3 separate regions of the Homo sapiens genome follow, and regions 1 and 2 are each linked to region 3. Evidence: promoter capture Hi-C in human tissues and cell types (Jung and others, 2019). All regions are on one chromosome and are shown on one strand. Each heading gives the region's core, a stretch centred on a gene start or on the middle of the fragment in contact. The rest is flanking DNA. Distances are from core to core; before and after follow the strand shown.

Region 1 (3,386 bases), core at 210-2,709, 81 kb after region 3:
GGGGATGTGGTGCCAGTGACGGTGGCTGGCAAGCTGGCAGCCTCAGGCTGCATCCTAGGGGGCATCCTGGTGGTAGCACTCCCCATCACCATCATCTTCAACAAGTTCTCCCACTTCTACCGGCGCCAGAAGGCTCTGGAGGCAGCCGTGCGCAACAGCAACCACCAAGAGTTTGAGGACTTGCTGAGCAGCATTGATGGGGTGTCGGAGGCATCTCTGGAGACATCCCGAGAAACCTCTCAGGAGGGACAGTCTGCAGATCTAGAGAGCCAGGCCCCCAGTGAGCCTCCACACCCTCAGATGTATTAAAACCAGGGATCCGTGACCCCCTGCCATGCCCCTACAGTAGAGATTCCTCCCCTGCTAAAGTTCTTCATGGTAGTGAGCCTCCCAGGATCACTCATGCTGTCCTGAGAAATGAGATTCAAAAGCTGCATTCCTTCCTCCAAAGGCCCAGGACAGGACAGTGCTACCCTAGATTCTGTGAGATTCTGCAAGCAACTCAGAAAGCTTTATAAACCTGCCTCCAAGCCATTCATGAAGCAGGCATGAGCCAGAGGGAGGAAGTTGAAAGGATACTAATGATTCCTGAGCACCTCCTGTACATGAACCAGGTCATGTTTGGCCTTGTGTTGGAGAAAGAGAATTATCCCCACTTCACAGATGAGGAAACCAAGGCTAAGAGATGAGCGATGCCTCTCCCAGATGTCACAATTAGAAGTGGCAGAGTCAGGTTTGGAATCTGGGCTTGTTGGTGTGCCTGGAGCAATGCTCCATCAACTCCATCTTTCTTCTGCCCTCATGAAGTTTGCGTGTGTTTTTTGGTGATTCATGGATCCCCAGAGTTGATCCACAAGATAAGAAATCCCTTTCAGAGCCAGGGAAGGGTCCAGACAGGAGATTTGGATATAGGAGCTCTGGATCTCAGCTGTGGTTCCTTTCTAGGAGCATCCAACAGGAGTCAGCAATCAAAGATGAGTCCTGGAGGGAAGGAGGATGAGTCCTGGGAGGAAGTACCATAGCATTGTACTTGCCTCTTTAGCTGGTATGCAAGATTTGCTAAGCAATAATCTTCCGACCTTCCTCCCAGGGCTGATGTGAGAGAAAGAAAATCTGAAGGGCCCCTGGCCTGAGATCTAGACAACCTAGCTGCGCCAAGACCTGCTGTGTAAAGTGGTCCAATCCCTGCCCCCAAGTCCAGATTCCAGCCCCTCTGTCAAATGGTCAGAATCTGTGACCCAGAGGGCAATGAAAGCCAAGGAGAGCAGAGGGGTCTCTAACTTAAAGCCAGCTCAGCTCTGAAATGTTCAGAGGGCTGACATATATGAATACTGGCTTCTAAGACCCTCCCCCAACAGTCTGACCTTGGCAGTTCCTTTCTGCCCATCACACAGACGTCCAGCCCTACATTGTCCAGCCCTACCTAGAGTACCCATCCAGGCCCATGTGTGAGAGTCCTCTCCCTTCTGGCCAGCTCCAGCCCCCTCACCCTTGCTGGGGGCATATCTCTCATACCCACCTGCTGAATCTTCTCTTCACTTGCTGAGAAAGTCAGAGGAGGGGATCCAGTAGCCCTTTCCACATACTGTGGCTACAGCACCCAGCACTGTGCTGTTGTTGTCTGACTGTGGCTATCTCTGTCCCATCACCCTGAGCCTCAAGATGGAAGACATTGTCTGCTTGAACTCTGGGCTTGGTGCAGAGTAGGTATTTGGTAAATGTTGAATAGATCAACCAATTCCTACAGCCCACTGGGTGCCAAGCTCAGAGGGGGAAAAAAAGATAGCCAGAGAGAGACCTGGCCCTCAAAAAGGTGTGAACAAGACTGAAAAGGAGGTCCGTTCAGCTCCGCCTGCCCTGTCCCTGCTTGGTTCTTGAAGTTTTTACAATATATTCCTTGTAGGTTCTTCACTCACTCACTCAACAAATACCCGTTGGAAGAGTCTTAAACTGGGGCTTCATGTGTGGCCTGCAGTCATGTTTCGGCTTAGTCCAACAGTGTTTTTATTATATTTTAAGAATCTGAATGCCTTTGCGTGAGGCATGCACTCTCAGGTTCCCCATAGTGTCTCCCCCGCTGCCACCCACAAACAGACACACATGCCGTTGTGTTATGCCCAGCCACTCTGATATACTGGCTTCTGACTTATGGGCTGCTTACTAGTCTCAAGAGATACAGTGGTGGAAAAATATATCCCTATACTCATGAAGCTTACCGACTAGTAGGGAAGATAGACTCTAATGCAATAATCACATAAATATAGCGAGCTCTACTAAGTACAGGTGTGTATAATGTATCAGGGACCATGGCCCGAGAAAGTGAGAAGGCTTTCCTGAGCAAGTGACAATCTAACCTGCCATCCAAATGATAAATTGCTAATTAAGCAAATGAGGTTCCAGGGGGGAGTACTCCAAGCAGAGAGAATGGCATGTGTGAAGGTGTGTGTCATACACAGGGCCTAGTACATAGTGGGCCCCCTACATACGCATGGATTCTGGGTCTCCAGATTGGAACAGAGGATGGAGCTAAGCAGCAAAGGGCCTCCCTTGAATTCACCACACACATACCAGCCCTTCTGCACACTCTGCTCCTTACATCTAGGCCCAGCTGAACCCAGGTTAGGGGCAGATCAGAAGGGCTGCGTGTAGCACCCTTATGGTCTTGCAGAACACACCAAGAAACCCGACGGCTTCCATATTTTCTGACCCTACAAACAGGTCCCTAATACTGATGTGGAGAAAGCTCAAGAGGGAATCATCTGGCCTGAGCCTACCATGAGGCTGTTTGTGGTCCTGGCAGAAAAGCAACAACTCGCTCCCCTTCCCATGTATCAGTGAAAACCATTATGCAAATAAAGAGCTGGGCCCCAGGACGTGTTTCTGCTTGTATGGAGATGGCTCCCTGACATGCTGTCTGAGTGATTGGAGAGGGTGGGCAATATGTGGAATGACTTGGAATCCACATTCTCAGGCTCCAGTCCTGGATTTGGCACAAACTTTGTGGTTGTGCCAGCCAGAACAGGTTGCAAGTGACAGGAATTCAGTTGGAACAAACTTGGTCAAAAAGGGTAATTTATAAAATAATTAAAGTGATGAATGACTGTTAACAATTAGAGTTTGAGGGTATAAGCAACAAACTGACATCAAGCAAAAAATGAATTTATTGGAAGATATATTAGTTTCCAGCAGCTGCTGTAACAAATTCAAACAAACTTGATGGCTTAAAACAGTAGAAGTGTATTCTCTGACAGTTCTGGAGGCCAGAAATCCAAAATCAAGATGTCAGCAGGGCCACCCTCCCTCTGGAGACTCCAGGGGGAAACCCTCTCCTTTTCTCTTCTAGTTTGTGGTGGCTGCCACCATTCTTGGCTTTCCTTGGCTGTGGC
Region 2 (3,605 bases), core at 565-3,064, 99 kb after region 3:
ATCCCAGCAGAAGAATCGCTTGAACCCGGGAGGCGGAGGTTGCAGTGAGCCAAGATCGTGCCATTGTACTCCAGCCTGGGCGACAAGAGCGAAAATCCATCTCAAAGAATAAAAAGAAAAAAGAAAGAGAGAGAGAGACAGAACTATTAATTCGCACAGCAAATGGTGCAGGGGTGTGCATCCTGGATGCTTTGGTTTTTAAAACTTACTTGGCTATCAGACTTAACTACTAATTCAGCTGTCTTTCCAACCTAAAAATGCCAGTTCGAGTTATTTAGTCTATGCAAGAAAAGGTGGTCACTTCATTTTAAACAGGCTTGTGACTTTCCTTTTTTGTGTAAATATTGACCCCCTATAGTGATGCTATGAATCCTGATTCTATCATTTACTAGCTGCATGACCTTGGGAAGGAATCTTTCTCTCTGAACTTATTTCTTCAACTACAAAATGGAGATAAAGTAGTTAAGTCACAGGGTTATTGTGAAGTTTAGAGCCTACCCAGCTCAGTGCCTGATATATAATAGGTGCTCAACAAATGGTAGCTGTCATTTATTATTCCAGCAAGATCCTCAAATTGTCCTCTGTTTTCCGTATCCGCCACATAGCTATTTCAGTTGCCAAGCCCTGAAGACTAACAACTGCCTCTTGCATTTTTTAAAAACTTGCTTTAATTGCAAATAACAGAATCTGGCCACAGAAGAGGCACATTCCCTGCCTTTCCATTGATTCCCAGGTTTCAGGAGCAAAAGCAATTATGGAGTCAAATTACAGTATCCTGAGGTGCAACCCAGTCATGGCTCCCCATCTGAGGGAAAGAGGTAAAGTTGCAGGAAGATGGCTCTATGCTGTCTTTTGCAAAGCCCTCTGATCTGCTTCAGGCCCGAAACCTGCCTCCATGGGTGCTTGTCTGCTATATCTGGTAGATGTTGTGGAGCTCAAGGACTCGCTGAAACTGAATGATCTGGCTCGTCCAGGGAATCTCTTTACAGCCAGGTCATCTACTGAAGAGCCAAGGCAAGAGCAAGTTTCTGTTAGCAAGGTTCCCTGGAACAATTAACCAAGACTGACACAGGTCTCTTCCCCCAAAGAAGGGGCTGCATGGTTCGGTGGCCTGGGAGTGAGGACCCTGAATTCTAGTCTCAGCTCTTAACGCTAACTTGCTTTGTGATTTTGGCCATTCCCCTCTCTACACCTCAGTTTTGCGATCATCCGTACAAGAGGATCAGATCAGATGATCTCTATAGTCCCTTCCAGCTCTGACATTCTGTGTGTTCAGATTGAGCCTCCTGGAAAACAAATCTTAGTCTAATATTCATTTATCCTTTCCAGGCTGCTTAGCAGTAAAAGAGAAAAGAAAACAGTCACATATTTGAACGTGGGTCACAAAAGCAATCCCCTCTACCCCTGTGTGTAAGGAATGTGGAGCAACATGCCACGTGTATGATTTTTACATGAACAATGAGAGCTTCAAAAACGCTTTTCCTTTGTGGACTGAACACAGTCCCGTGTTTGCTGAGAGTCCCTGGTAGAGATCATGTCTCCTCTTAAGGCACTGGGCAGTATCTGTGCTGTGACTTTAGGCAGTTGAGAGAGTGGAGATGGATGAAAGGCATTGAAAGAGCAAAGGCCAATTTGCAAAGAGGGTGCCAGGCTTCTCCTGGGACTCAAAGAGTAAACATAAACTCTCAAAGCTTTCCCTTGGACATCACCAATAGCTCCAGAAGCCAGTGATGACCACACAAGGCTGAAACCACGGTACAAGAACTGTCCCAAACCTAATTTTTAAATGCAGCCCTGCAAAGGGGGAGGTTGGCTCCTGGGATTCAGTGACCCCCTAACAGCCTCCCGGTGTCCTCTGCCCTCATGTTCCACAGTACCATAATCTTACAGAAAAGAGGCAAACCGTTTAAAACTGTACCTGTACAGAGATGCCACCACACTGCGTGGGGAATCTATTTATAATTTATATATATATATGCATATTTATATTTTTTTAAAAGTCTTCCAGAAAGAACAATTGAAAGCTATTGGGAGAAGAAAAACAGACAATGTAAAACTTTCCCAGCTATCACTCAACTAGGAGTCTCTGTTCCTGGGGTTTAAAACTCTGAGTTAAAAGCGCCAATATAAATCCTTTGAGATAATATACCTGACCAATGTACATACACACATCAAGATGGCACGCTGACTGTCAAGAGAGCCCTTCCCACTGGCGCACATTCCTGAGTTCACAAAGGTGCTGTGGAGAGACGACAGAGCAGAAGTGCTGGCTAACAAACATGAGGCAAGCCATCCAGAATTCACCCAAAGCCTGGGTGGAGCTGGGGCCCTCACAGCCTGGCCTTGCTCAGAAGTTTTGTTGCCGTCTCTTCTTAGCCTCTATGGCATCCAGGATGGGCTGCCGCTTGGACTGGTACTTCTGCCGGATCTCTTCAATCTCCTGCTCCATCATGGGGTCCAGGGCCAAGAGCCTCTTCTGAAGGTCCTCCACTGTCCAACTCTTAAGCTAGAAGAGAAGTGGAAGGTATAGTCACGACAAAGCTTAAGTCAGTGGCAGAACAGTGCAGAAGCCCAGCCTTCCCAGGCACCCAGAGGGAAGGGAGACAGGAGGAAGACACTGTGGTCAGATCACAGGTTGAGTGGTGGTGGTTGGAAAGTGACAATTCATTCCAAAGCATGGCATACCTTGAAGCTTGTCTGAGATAATTTATCCCTGGAAGAGATCTAAGTGCTAACCGCTTTGATTTAATGTGCCTTGACCAAGAACTTAGTGAATAATACTCTCACCTCCCCTATCTTTTAAGTTAATTAAATATAGATTCATTGTTAGGGCATTAAAATAACAGTAACTTGCTGTATGTGAAATAATGGTTGCCTCCCCGTTCTTGTTCTGTCTACGAGATAAGCGTCTATCTGGACAGCGCCTTTCCCACTTTCAGGATACGACACCATGGAGGATCGATGCTGATGAGGCGCAGATGCCATCCCCTAACCCTGCCTTCCCACACCCCCAATGTCTTGGCACTGCCCTATTATCATCACCAGCATTTACTTGAGGCTACTATATACCAGGTAACAGTCTAAGCCCCTTGGGAATACAGACGCAACCCTTGGCAGGGGTTGGGGTAAGGGTGGGTAGTTAGAAAAACCTCAAACTTCTGAGATTAAGTTTCTATCATCCAAAGAAAAACAATGAGTTGATATATAAATTAATAATAATGGCTGGCATTTAGTGTTTTCTATGCACCAGACACTGAGTGCTTTACATATATGGATTCCTTTAATCCTCAGAGCAACCCATGCTACAAGGACATTATTATCCCTATGTTACAGATGAACAGCCCAAGGAGGAGGGTAGCTAAGTAACCTGCCCAATGTCTCCCAACTAGTAAGTGGCAGAATCAAGACTCAAACCCAGGCAGCATGGCTCTAGAGTCTATGCTCTTAACCAGTGTTGCAGAACAGAAGACTAGCAAAGCACAGGTTTTAGAAGTAACTCAACCTTTGTTTAAAATGTGGTTCTGCCTGTTGCAGATGCCATGAGACTCTGTCAAGTTACCAATCTCTCCAGGCCTTCCCCATCTACAGAAGTCAGACAGCAGTGT
Region 3 (3,844 bases), core at 411-2,910:
TAGGAACCAGAAACAAGTGGAGCAGAAGGAACTCTTTATTGGAAAGTGGATGAGAGAGGCAGCTCCAGCCGTGGGCATCCTGAATGGGAGGAAGAATGGACAGTGTGGGAAGGGGAAGGGCAGCAGGGACTTAGGACCAGATGGGGCCTGTAGCTCTGGGGACGGCACAGGTGCAGCAAGGACCGGCTCCCTCTGTGGAAGAGAAGAGTATCAGAGGTGAGAGTCAGCACATCAAAGCACTCAGAGGCAGTGAGGAAGACAGATCATCCTTCTAGGCACTCTGGTTATAGCCTCTCAGACCCCTCAGTCTCCCAGTCTTTCTGTCACCTCCCACAACCTCCCTCCCACCAACCTGGGATGCTTCCCCACCGCTCAGCCTTCTTTTGTGTCTTCAGGGGTCTCCTCGTTCTCCAGCTAGTGCTCACCTCACTGGGGAACGAAACAGGCCATCCCGCAAGAGCCTTCACAGCACTTCTTGATTCCTGGGCAGTCAGTATCTTTCAAGCAGCGGTTAGGGGGATTCAACATGGCGCACCGGATCAAGATAATGGGGCAGGAGCCAGGCTTAGTGGAGACTGGACCTTTGACTGGCTCTTGCGCTTTGACTTTATCTTGACCTTTAACTGAAACTTGTCCTTTAACGGGATCTTGTCCATTGAATGGAACACGGCCTTTGACAGTGTCTTGACCTTTAACAGGAACTGTTAAAAGAAGAAACGAGCCCACATTTATACCCAGTAAGCCTCTGCTTCAGCTGCCATGTCTTTCCTCTGGGTCTGGGTCCATCCACTGCTTACTGCAGCATCCTCAAACCATGGCCTGAGTAGGGAAGGTACACCTCTGGGAGCTACACTCTTGGAAGGCTCTTCCTTTTTTGGGGTGGTCTACTGGACCAGAGTTCCCTTGAGTATTTGTTTCTTCCCCCTTCCTCCACTCCAAGTCTCTCAGGAGCAGTGGTCAGACTGGGGTGACACCCAGCAGTGAAGAGGACACATTGTCATTTGTTAGGAAGTGCATTGGAGTAGGAAAGAACCCTGAGCCACATACTAGGAGACTTGAGCCCCATCCTGGCTCTGGGAATTACCTTGGCAATTGCTCACTCATTTCTACATTTTTGGTTCCCTCCTTATAAAATGGGGGTCCTCAAACAACATGATTCCTGAAGGCTTGTTGTTTCTTAACCTCCTTTTAGAGTACTGATTACTCCAGTGCTTTTATGGGGCAGAGAAACGGGGGACTGTGTCCACACCCAAGGTTTAAAATCCTGGAGTTCATTATTTTATTGCACATTCTGCACAGGTATTGACATCTGAGGCCAAGGCCACATACCAACATTACTTCCACAAACAGTCCTGATATCTCAGTCACTGAGGTGGAAAGCACGTGGAGTCCACCAGCCAAAGTCCTATTTTTTCTGAATATGATGGCAAAGAACAGAAAGCTGAAATCTGGGCTCCAGTGCTGCCTACTGCTTCAGAAGTGCTCCCTGTCCTGGCCCAGGGTGTCCCAGAGGGTCTCCCCTTAGTCCAACCCAGCCCAGCAGGTCACCTGTTCACTCACCTCCCGTGACAGCTGCCTCTAGAACCAGCGTCCCAGCGATGAGGAACACCACCACGATCAAGAAGCTGCTGGCCCTCATGGTGTCAGGAAGGTGTTTGGCTAAGAGCTAAGGCCATACCAATCTTTATGCAGTCCAGCTTGGCCTGGCTCCAGGGGCGGGTCTGTGGTATTTACAAGGGATAATTCCTTAGCTGTATTGGGAAATATCCACCCCATTCTGGGAGGGACCTGGGGGCTTTCCCTCAGGATTATTCACAGGAAGAACTAATGGACATTACATCACATCATCTCTGATTGTCCCAAGAGTTTTCCTACTTTCTCACAGAGTAGAAGTGCTGGCTCACTTATTAGGTAACATTACAATGAAATTCTTCATGTTTTGAAATACAGTGAGACCCAAGAAGAGAAAGGAATCACCGAAGGTTATTCAGCAAGTCACTGGTAGATCCAGTCTTGATTACAAAACCAAGGTGTTTCTCCATTATGCTCTGGTGCTACAAACCCCACCCAGATCTACTTTATCATTTTACCACTCCCAGCATCAAACTGGGCATTTCCTTCCTTCTTCCCTGGTCCTGCAAAAAACTCTGTAAGACAAATTTGCCTTGAATACATAATGACTAATTATTGCACTTTGCTGTTTCAGAGACGGCCTTTCAGATGCATCAAGAAAGTAATTGGAAGGTGGAATTCTAGGTCTGAAGAGGGATGATGCCCTTGAAATCACAGTGGTAGGGAGAAAATAATCAGAAAGTAGTAGAAAACATGTATCATGTATACATTGGACATCTACAGTGTGTGTGTCCAGCATGCCTCCCCACTTCTTTGAACAGCACCCTGTTTCTTGTGAAGAATTGTTGTCTCTTTGAACCATCAACTTGTGAGTCTAATGGGGACTGCTAATCATGAAAGCCTGACCCCTGACCACAGGTAGGGGTGTGTGTGTGTGTGTGTGTGTGTGAGTGTGTGTGTGTGTGTTGTGTGTGAGACTTGGTCTGGTCTATTAACATATTTTATTTGAATGAGTAATGAAAGGGGAAAACGGGGGTTCCTTCTTCTGGAAAAGGTGATATATATGAACCAGGGAATTCCAGAAGTGGTTATCTAAGTCTGGGGGTGGAGATCAATTGTCTGAGAAAAACGACTCTAATACACTGAGACAAGGAGAGAAGTGATGGTGAGAGAAGATTCAGATGACACAGCCAGGTTTCCCTCCTTTACCTTGAGAGCAGTTCTTCACACACCCTTCTCATGGTTGGGTTATGAGGCAATAAATTAGCCCTCTGCTTCAGCTAGTCTGACTTACTATTCTGTCATTGTTACCAAAAGTTCTGAGTAATAGAAATGAATATCCTGAAGTTGGGTATTGTCAGGGACAGAATCTGAGTTAAGAAAGTCACTGAGTTGAGGTGGAGTTAAGGCAGGGAAGGTAACAAACTAATTATTGGACACTAATTCAGCTGGTGAAATCCCCACCCCTTGTCGATTTAGACTCTGACCACATGCCCACCAAGCCTGAAACTGAGGGAGACATAAACGAATGTCAGACTGTGGAAGCCTTTGGCTACCTTACACAAAAGCTCATTGTACAATAAGCCATACAAACAAATAAAAAGCTCACAGAAAATACCTATATTCTTTAAAGAATAGCATTAAAATGAGCTGCCAGGTAAAGGAGGAGAATATTTGCTATATCTATGCTCCATGCCTCTCCTCAGTTGCTTCATTCTCCTTCCTCCCCAGAGATAACTGCTTCCTAAGATTTTATGGTAATTAGCCCTTGCTTTCCTTTATAGTTATGCCACTTCTGTCTGTATTCTGAAATATATATTCAGTTTAGTATACTTTTTCAATTTGTATGTAAATGAAATCTAAGGTATAGTGTTCATATGTCCTGCTTATGTTGCTCAACATTATATTTTTGAGAGTCATCCATTTTGAAGTCTACACCTGTAGTTCATCATTTTCACTGCTGTACAGTATTCTATGAAAAATACCAAAAATGTTATATATTCATTCTACTGTCAATATACATTGGATATTTCTAGGTTTTAGCTATTATAGTGTTGCTATGAATATTCTTGTACATATCTCTTGCAGAACATAGGTATGCATTTATTTTGGATATATGGTTAGGAATGGAATTGCTGGATCACAGAGTACAGATCACAGAGTATAGATACATCCAGCTGTCATAAATACTGCAATCAATTTTCCAACATCATTGTACCAATTCACACTGCTATCAGCAATGTGTGAGCATTCCATTTGCTCCATAATCTCA

What was found. The method cuts DNA at HindIII sites, captures the fragments that hold promoters and counts their contacts. A contact is called where the count stands out against the background at its distance.
Region 1: a contact is called between a fragment that was not itself captured here and the fragment with the promoter of PI3 in region 3, in 4 of the 25 tissues and cell types used here (dorsolateral prefrontal cortex, mesenchymal stem cells, mesendoderm cells and 1 more).
Region 2: a fragment that was not itself captured here is called in contact with the fragment with the promoter of PI3 in region 3 in 2 of the 25 tissues and cell types used here (mesenchymal stem cells and small bowel).

Annotation. Positions count from the first base shown.
Region 1 is chr20:45,091,793-45,095,178 of GRCh38, reverse strand. KCNS1 (potassium voltage-gated channel modifier subfamily S member 1) reads left to right here. Exons shown (of 4, transcript NM_001322799.2): 4 at 1-3,386. The coding sequence ends at 309. Among named protein-coding and RNA genes, the nearest start is that of KCNS1, 7.6 kb to the left of the region's middle. The HindIII fragment of the contact is 5,760 bases long and covers 1-3,386 here.
Region 2 is chr20:45,073,919-45,077,523 of GRCh38, reverse strand. STK4 (serine/threonine kinase 4) reads right to left here. Exons shown (of 11, transcript NM_006282.5): 11 at 1-2,506. The coding sequence ends at 2,348. Among named protein-coding and RNA genes, the nearest start is that of KCNS1, 25 kb to the left of the region's middle. The HindIII fragment of the contact is 4,057 bases long and covers 1-3,605 here.
Region 3 is chr20:45,172,718-45,176,561 of GRCh38, reverse strand. PI3 (peptidase inhibitor 3) reads right to left here and starts at 1,660. Exons shown (of 3, transcript NM_002638.4): 1 at 1,561-1,660; 2 at 426-701; 3 at 18-192. The coding sequence starts at 1,639. The coding sequence ends at 427. RefSeq lists an enhancer at 871-2,070. The HindIII fragment of the contact is 10,589 bases long and covers 1-3,844 here.